Linked DNA regions of Homo sapiens: region 1 is linked to region 2. Evidence: promoter capture Hi-C in human tissues and cell types (Jung and others, 2019). All regions are on one chromosome and are shown on one strand. Each heading gives the region's core, a stretch centred on a gene start or on the middle of the fragment in contact. The rest is flanking DNA. Distances are from core to core; before and after follow the strand shown. Region 1 holds the start of SLX4 (SLX4 structure-specific endonuclease subunit). Region 2 overlaps ADCY9 (adenylate cyclase 9).

Evidence for each region. The method cuts DNA at HindIII sites, captures the fragments that hold promoters and counts their contacts. A contact is called where the count stands out against the background at its distance.
Region 1: the fragment with the promoter of SLX4 here is called in contact with a fragment that was not itself captured in region 2 in 1 of the 25 tissues and cell types used here (dorsolateral prefrontal cortex).

What each region holds. Positions count from the first base shown.
Region 1 is chr16:3,609,888-3,613,526 of GRCh38, forward strand. SLX4 (SLX4 structure-specific endonuclease subunit) reads right to left here and starts at 1,719. Exons shown (of 15, transcript NM_032444.4): 1 at 1,673-1,719. It also overlaps a transcript of DNASE1 not described here. RefSeq lists a silencer at 1,577-1,926 and an enhancer at 1,967-2,036. The HindIII fragment of the contact is 5,274 bases long and covers 1-3,639 here.
Region 2 is chr16:4,092,191-4,096,315 of GRCh38, forward strand. The region is part of intron 2 of ADCY9 (adenylate cyclase 9); the gene reads right to left. Among named protein-coding and RNA genes, the nearest start is that of ADCY9, 22 kb to the right of the region's middle. RefSeq lists a silencer at 1,958-2,252. The HindIII fragment of the contact is 3,047 bases long and covers 691-3,737 here.

The DNA.
Region 1 (3,639 bases), core at 469-2,968, 480 kb before region 2:
AGGAAAACTATCTCCTACACTGATCTAAGACCCCTGGCTGTTAAAGAGGCTCTTTCTGTAAATACTGCAACATAAGAGACAGAAAGAGACATTATATTCTCATGAACACTCAGGAGAGAAAAGGTCACTTTTACTTATCTTCTCAACCCAGCAAGGCTCTCCAAACCTGGATGACTGGAATGTCGCCTGTGTGCAAAGGCTGGGCCTCGTGAGCATGGTTGTTTACTTTGGCACACAGCTAAGTGGGGTTCAAAAATCAAAACTGAATGACCCAATGGCAGAAAGTTATTCCTTTCAAATACAATAATGCAATCTCCACTGTCCAAGGAATCTAATTAATCATTTTGTTTTCCAGAGCTGAAAATACTCCTACCTAGAATCTACTTTGTATGGCTGGCGCATTCTCTTCTGTGTCTTCCCCTTAGAGAAGTGTCCTCTAATCCTTTATGGACCGTCTCCATCCCCGTTAATCCCTATCATCGCCCACTGTTTTCACAATGGCATCTGTCATAGGTTATCATCATATGAAACAGGTAATATCTATCGAATGCTTACTGTGTGCCAAGCACTGTTCCAATTGCTTTCCAAGTCAAACTCGTTTAATCCTTACAAGAAGCCTATATGGTGGAATCTCTTGTCATCCTGTCTTTACGGCAAGGAAACACGCGCAAGCAGAATGAGGAACTGGCCTAAAGCCAGTTCAGGAACAGCTTTCACAGTGGCAGGGCTGGGATCAAACCCAGGAAGTGTGGTTCGAAACTATCCGCTCTTGTGTTTTTATTCATCGGCTTATTATCTGTCCCCCATTAAGCTCAACACTTCAGGAGGGTAGAGATCCATCTATTACTTTGCAACCTCTTTGGCTGATCTGGTGCCTGACTTGAAATAAGTGCTCCACAACTACTTGTTGAATTCATGAATTGCAAAGAGTTCGGTATAATGGGAGTAGAGAGAAAGGTGTAGGAGAAAACGCTGCGGGGAGAGGAAAGGATTGGCTCACAAGGGCCTGGAAGGTCAGGCTAGGCAAAGTGAATTTTATCCTGTTGGATGCGGGGAGCGGCTGGAACAAATTCCACCTCCACAACTGTGTTGATCTCCGCATCTCTGTTGATATGAACCTCACAACAGTCTATCTCCTCCTATAGGTGCCCAGTCAAGATTTACTGAATGACATAACGGATCCTGCAAGCCTGCAGGTTTCCAGAGGGAAGGGGACTTGTGCCTCCTTGCTTCGTACCTACCGCAGCCCACGGCTCACAGCAGGCGAGGGATGAATGAATGGATCGGTAAGGGGCGGACCCTCCCGCTTCCCCCAACCCGGCGACCTACGGAAAGGGGCTGAGGGGTTCCCCGTCTGGGAAAAGGGCTGCCAAAGACTCTAACGGCTCTAAAGTCAGACGGAGAACCCCGATCCCCGGACTGGCCCGGACGGAGACCACCGTGGGGATCCGGATCCGCCACCCTCCTCCCTCCAGGCGGGCCCCGGCCCCTCTCCACCCGAGTGCGGCTCCTGCCTCTCCGTCGGGGCTGCGGGCCTGCCGAGGCCACGGAGCCAGCGAGGGAGACGGGCGAGAAAGGCTCTTCTCCCTTAGGAAAGAGAGAACGGCCCGAAATGACAGGACCTCCGCCTCCCGGGTGCCGACTCCCAGCCCCACAGCCCGGCTCCTCCTACCTCCGGCGCCGCCGCGGCACCTTCTTAACGGAGACTCGCGCGCCTGCGCATGCGCCGCCCGCGCCCCCGCGGAGCATTGCCTGCGCGCAGGCGCAGAGCGGGCGCGCGCGGTGGTGCGGCAGCCTCGCTTCCGGTCTTCCTCTGCGGCGCCGGGCGCGGGCCCGCGGCGGCCAGCGCTTCCGGTCGGCAGGAGGCGGGGCGAGGCGGAAGCGGCGCTTGCTTCAGGTGGAGTCTGTTAGTTTTTGAGAAAGAGTTAGGGCGAGTTTAAGGCACTGTGGCAGCTGTGAGATAAAGTCTGGTTCCTCCCCAGCTGGCTCAGGAAATGTTCGCGGATACAACGGCGGCCCCCTCTGGGCATACCTGCCTGTGGAGCGGAGAGTGGACGGTGTGAGGGGGACCGGGAGAGGCACCAAATCTGGCCTGGGGGCCCGAGAAGCTTCCTCTCAGGTGGGGTGGCGTGAGAGTCGAGGCCTGGAGGTCGGGGAGGGTTAGCTACGTGAAGAGGGGATTCTGCCGCGCTTCAGGTGCCTGGAGGGGATGCCCGAGCTCTTCCGCAGGGCTAGGGTGAAGCCAGCCAGGGCCTGGGGGAAAGGTAGCAGAGGTTTGCCATGGCTTGGTATTTGAGGGACTTTACACATCGTATTAAGGGTTTGAGCTTCAACTTGGGGTCGTCGGGAGCCATTGAAGGTTTTTTGTTGTTTGTTTTTTGAGACGGGGTTTTGCTCTTGTTGCCCAGGCTGGGGTGCAGTGGCGCGATCTCGGCTCACTGCAACCTCTGTCTCCCGGGTTCGAGCGGTTCTTGTGCCTCACCTTCCCAAGTAGCTGGGATTACAGGCGCCAGTCACCACGCCCAGCTAATTTTTGTGTTTTTAGTAGAGACTAGGTTTCACTCTGTTGCCCAGGCTGGTCTCCAACTCCTGACCTCAGGTGATCCGCCCGCCTCGGCCTCCCAAAGTGGTGGGATTACAGGCGTGAGCCACCGCTCACGGCTTTTTTTTTTTTTTTTTTTAAGTAGAGACGGGCGGTGGGGGCGGGGGGGGGAGTCTCACTATGTTGCCCAGGCTGGTCTCGAGCCCTGGCCGCAAGAGATCCTCCCGCCTCGGCCTCCCAAAGCGCTGAGATTACAGGCGTGAGCCACCACGCCCGGCGTAAGATTTTGTTTTTAAAGGCCTAATTACAGTGAGAACAGATGAGGCAAGGACACCCATTAGGAGGCTATTACATAATCTAGATGAAAAGTGAGAGCGGCCCGAATTAGGAGGTGGAGCGAAAAGAATGGAGAAATATGGAGCATAGTCAAGACGCAGTTGTTAACGATTTGCCGGTTTCTGGCCTTAACATCTGAGAGTAGTGTGCCTCCAGTCACTGAAATAATGAACACAGGAGAGGTGTAAAGGAATCAGTTTGCAGGGCAGACAATATGTTTTTTAAAAGATACAGTATCATAAAATGCACACTAGAAGTGTACATTCAGTGGTTTCCAGTACGTTCACAGGATTTGCAGCCATCGTCGCTAATTCCAGAACGTTTTAAAACCCCAAATCGAACCTGCCGTACCCATTCGTAGTCACTCCGCAATTCCCCCGACCCCATCCCCTGGCAATCACTTATCGGCTTTCTGTCTCTGTGGTTTTGCGTATTCAGTACATTTTATGTAAATGGGATCATGTGATACTTGGCTTTTTCTGCTGGGCTTTTATTAAGCATGTTTTCAAGATTTCATCCATGTAGATGAATCAGTACTGCATGCCTTTTCATGGCTGCATAATCACGTGTTTGGATGGACCATGTTTTGTTTATCCATGTATCAGGTGATGGGCATATGGATGTTTTTACTTTTTGGCTGTTAGAAATAATGCTGCTATGAACATTCGTGTTCATAACACAAGTTTTTGTGTTCTAGGAGTGGAATTACTGGGTAAGACTACATTTGATTCTGAATGTTGAGCTTCAAAACCTTCCAAGAG
Region 2 (4,125 bases), core at 964-3,463:
ATCCAGGAAACGGAGGTTGCAGTGAGCTGAGATCGTGCCACTGCACTCCGGTCTAGGCAACAGAGCAAGACCCTGTCTCAAAAAACAAACAAACAAAAGAACCAAGTAGGAAGAAATGTGGCCAGTTCCTCCTGGGCAGTGTTGTACAGAACACACCAAATTTCTACAGTGACTCCTACCAGACGTTTCTTGGGAAAGTAAGCAAAGTCCTTTCCTGAAATTCTGGTAAATTTTCATAAAAATCAATACTTCCCTAATTTAACATTCACATTTTAGCTTACAGTATAACTAGTTATAGAATTGTTCATTAATTCTAATTGACTTTCGATTATACAATCTAATATCTAATTTCCATTTTCTATTTCTAGTACATAAGCAAAAGAAATGCCCTTTTGGTCTTATGGAAAACGTGTCCTATTTAATAAGACACAAATTTGATTCAAATTTCTCTTTCTCCTCCTCCCCCTTAATAATACACTAAAAATAACTGTAATAACATCTTACACATCCTGAACGCCTGTACCTAGCAACCTCACTTACTCAGACTATAGCTGACAACTAAAAACCTGCACAAAGGCTGACTCCTTAGCCCTTTCCATCAAACGATATCTGCAGGCTGAACGAGCTTAATTACTTGTTGGTTTGGTTTTTTAATGTAACGAAGTAAAAACCAGGAGCAAATGTGATACAGGAAAGCACACCAACAGCTACATACATGGATAGCAAAAGAAGCCAAAAAAATTATTTTTTAAAATGTAAGAACTGGAAAAACAGAATGATCTCAGTTTTTTTAAAAAAGCAAAGATTCCTATTTTTATAGAGAAATTGCTATATTAGTAAAAGCCAAATAACAAGAGGCAAAAATAACTGAGTCATCAAGAAAATTACCTCTTATTTGGCACAGTCCATTTTTATGAAAGTGCTTTATCTATTTCAGAAACATAAAATCAAATGTTTGAATTGGTTAAAACAGAAAATTATCTGATTGATTAAAAGAGAAAATCCTCTGCTCTTCAGAAAACTCAACCATCCAGAAAGTGCTATCACTGACATTTATATCTAACAACATGGCAAATGAGGTTGGTTTCATATTCAACCATTTGCTGTCCCCGAAGCTCTCTATTAAGGATCTGGCTGATCAGAAAACTTAATATTTAATCAACCTAGAGCAGGCCTAGAAAAGAGGCTACTGTTTAAAAACAAACAACTGATTATATAAAACATTTACATCAAATTATAATTCAGTATTAAATCTCATGGAATCACGCCTTTCAGGAAAACGTCTGGACACTAGTGAAAATGAAATGGCTAAATCTCAATCAAAGTATATTATTAAGTAATAAAAGATTTTATCATTCAACTTTTTTTTTGTCTCTACATAAAAAAAGTATTTTTGTCTCTACAAAAAATACAAAAATTAGTCAGTCGTGTTGGCATGCGCCTGCAGTCCCAGCTACTCAGGAGGCTGAAGCTGGAGAATATCACTTGAGCCCAGGAGGCGGAGGCTGCAATGAGCTGAGATCACGTCACTGCACTCCAGCCTGGGCGACAGAGCCAGACGCTGTCTCAAAATAATTAATTAATTAATTGTTTAAAAAATCAAAGAATAGCTTAAAATTATTACTAAGCTAAGAACCTTGCTGCTATTACTTGTTCAGGAAAGCTCCACACACCATAGGCAGTGGTGCTAAATGCAACAGAAGCCTTAGTGCGAACTGGAACTTCTCCCAGGAGTCTATGGAATTGGAAACTTAATAGCTACTAAATACAGTAACATCATGACTGGAGCTATGAAAGCAAACATTTCCATTTGAACTTCAAGTGGCAGAAGGGACAAAGTTGATACCTTAGACTCATCAGCCCTGAAAGTGTTCCTAATCACAATTTCTTTCAGGAGCCAGAAAGAACACAGCGTTAATTATGTTAATCCAGCTGAGACGTTCACTATGAAATGTGTGTTAGAGAAAAGTCCTTTGAAATTTCTTATTTGCATGGTAGTTCTGAAAGTTTTTAACCTCCTGCAGTTCCTGGCACACGGAGTCAGTCACTCACTTGTCCTCAGGAAGCACAGGACAGCAGCAGGTTCGGAATCACACTTTCTCTGTGTGATTTCACAACTCGGGTCTTTGTCCAGGTGAGATTCTCACTCGGGTCAGAGGGCAAAGGTATCCAATGACAACCCTGTCCTTCAGAACCAAGTAGTGTTTTCCCATCAGCCGTGCAAATCACAGCAAATGTCATGTGGCTTTCCAGCAGCCTCTTTGCTGTTTGTTGAGGAAGGATAAGAAAACCATGGAGGATTAAAATCACCACATTCAAATTACTATAAAGAAAAGGAGGCCAGGCGCTGTGGCTCACGCCCGTAATCCTAGCACTTTGGGAGGCCAAAGTGGGACGATCGCTCGAGGCCCCGCAACACAGCAAGACCCCCATCTCTAATAAGAAAAAAAAAAGGGAGAAGAAAGAAAAGGAAAAATGCAGACAAGCCAGAAAATAAAATTGAGGAGATTAATACAATATAATAATCAGGCACTGCAGATCACACCTGGAACACCGCCTCACCCAGGCAAAGGAGGAAAAGCTTTCATGTGTGCTCATCATTTGAGCAAAAAGGAAGAAAACACACACAGAAACTCAGGAGATCCAGAAGAGACACTCTGAACAAAGAAAATGGAAATGACAGGGAACCAAATGATCCACATCAGGGATTTTAAGAGGGAAATTATGCTTCTGAATGAAAAAAATAAAATCATTCAAAACTTTTTATAAATCTTTGACAAAATCCAAGAGTTTCCTTTCAATGTTGATGACATTTAATTTTTTTTTTTTTTTTTTTGAGACAGTCTCTGTCACCTAGGCTGGAGTGCAATGGCGCAATCTCAGCTCACTGCAACCTCTACTTACCAGGTTCAAGCGATTCTCCTGTCTCAGCCTCTGAGTAACTGGGATTACAGGTGCGCACCACCATGCCCGGCTAATTTTTGTATTTTTAGTAGAGACAGGGTTTCGGACGTTGGCCAGGCTGATCTCGAACTCCTGATCTCAGGTGATCCACATGCCTCAGCCTCCCAAAGTGCTGCGATTACAGGCGTGAGCCACCGCGCCCAGCCCTCTAATTTCTAATTACAACATCTAAGGTAGACACTTTCCAGATGCATTAATGTGGGGGACAACTAGAGGACTAACACGTCCCCTTGCACACTCAATATAGGGCCAGTAGATCCAGAAGCTCACCGTCAAGAGCAACAAGAGCAAGCAAGTCCTTCCTCAACAGAATCATCGGTAAGAACACTGTCAGTCCAGGATTCACTCAGTCCTACGAGTGAAAAACTTGCCAACACAGTGAAATTCATTTTACTGGCAACTAACCTTCCAATCTCTCTCTAAAATAATGTTCACATGGGAACTGAAGCACATTAAAAAAATAATAATTATTCACTTCACATTTTCTCCAAGCCATTTCAAAAGTGTTTCTCAGACTTTCAAAATCAAACAGGATTCCCAGACCAGGCACCATGGGTCACGCCTGTAATCACAGCACTTTAGGAGGCCAAGGCAGCTGGATTGCTTGAGCTCAGGAGTTCAAGACCAGCCTGGGCAACATGATGAAACCCCATCTCTACAAAATACACAAAAATTAGACGGGCATGATGTTGCATGACTATAGTCCCAGCTACTCGAGAGGCTGAGGCACAAGACTCACTTGAACCCAGGAGGCGGAGTTTGCAGTGAGCTGAGATCACGCCACTGCACTCTACCCTGGGTGACAGAGCAAGACTCTATCTCAAAAAAAAAAAAAAAAAAAAAATCAAATGGGGTTCCTCTAACGATACCCTGCTTTATTCAGGAAACGTGATCCTCAGGAAACCATGTGTAAATTATACTTCTAGAACTCAATCTTACGTATTTATATTTAAAGGAAGTAAAGAATCTTTTATGAAGTTACAAATCTCACACACGCCCTGCAATTTAGTGGCTCTATAAATCGGAGCTTCCCTATGCTAAATGTGTCTAAATGAGAGTTCGTAGTTGAAACAAGAGGACAAAGAAAAAAACACTTTTCAAATTAAGAATGAGCACTATGTCCCAATCACGTGAGAATCTCAGCTATACTTAGACAATGGT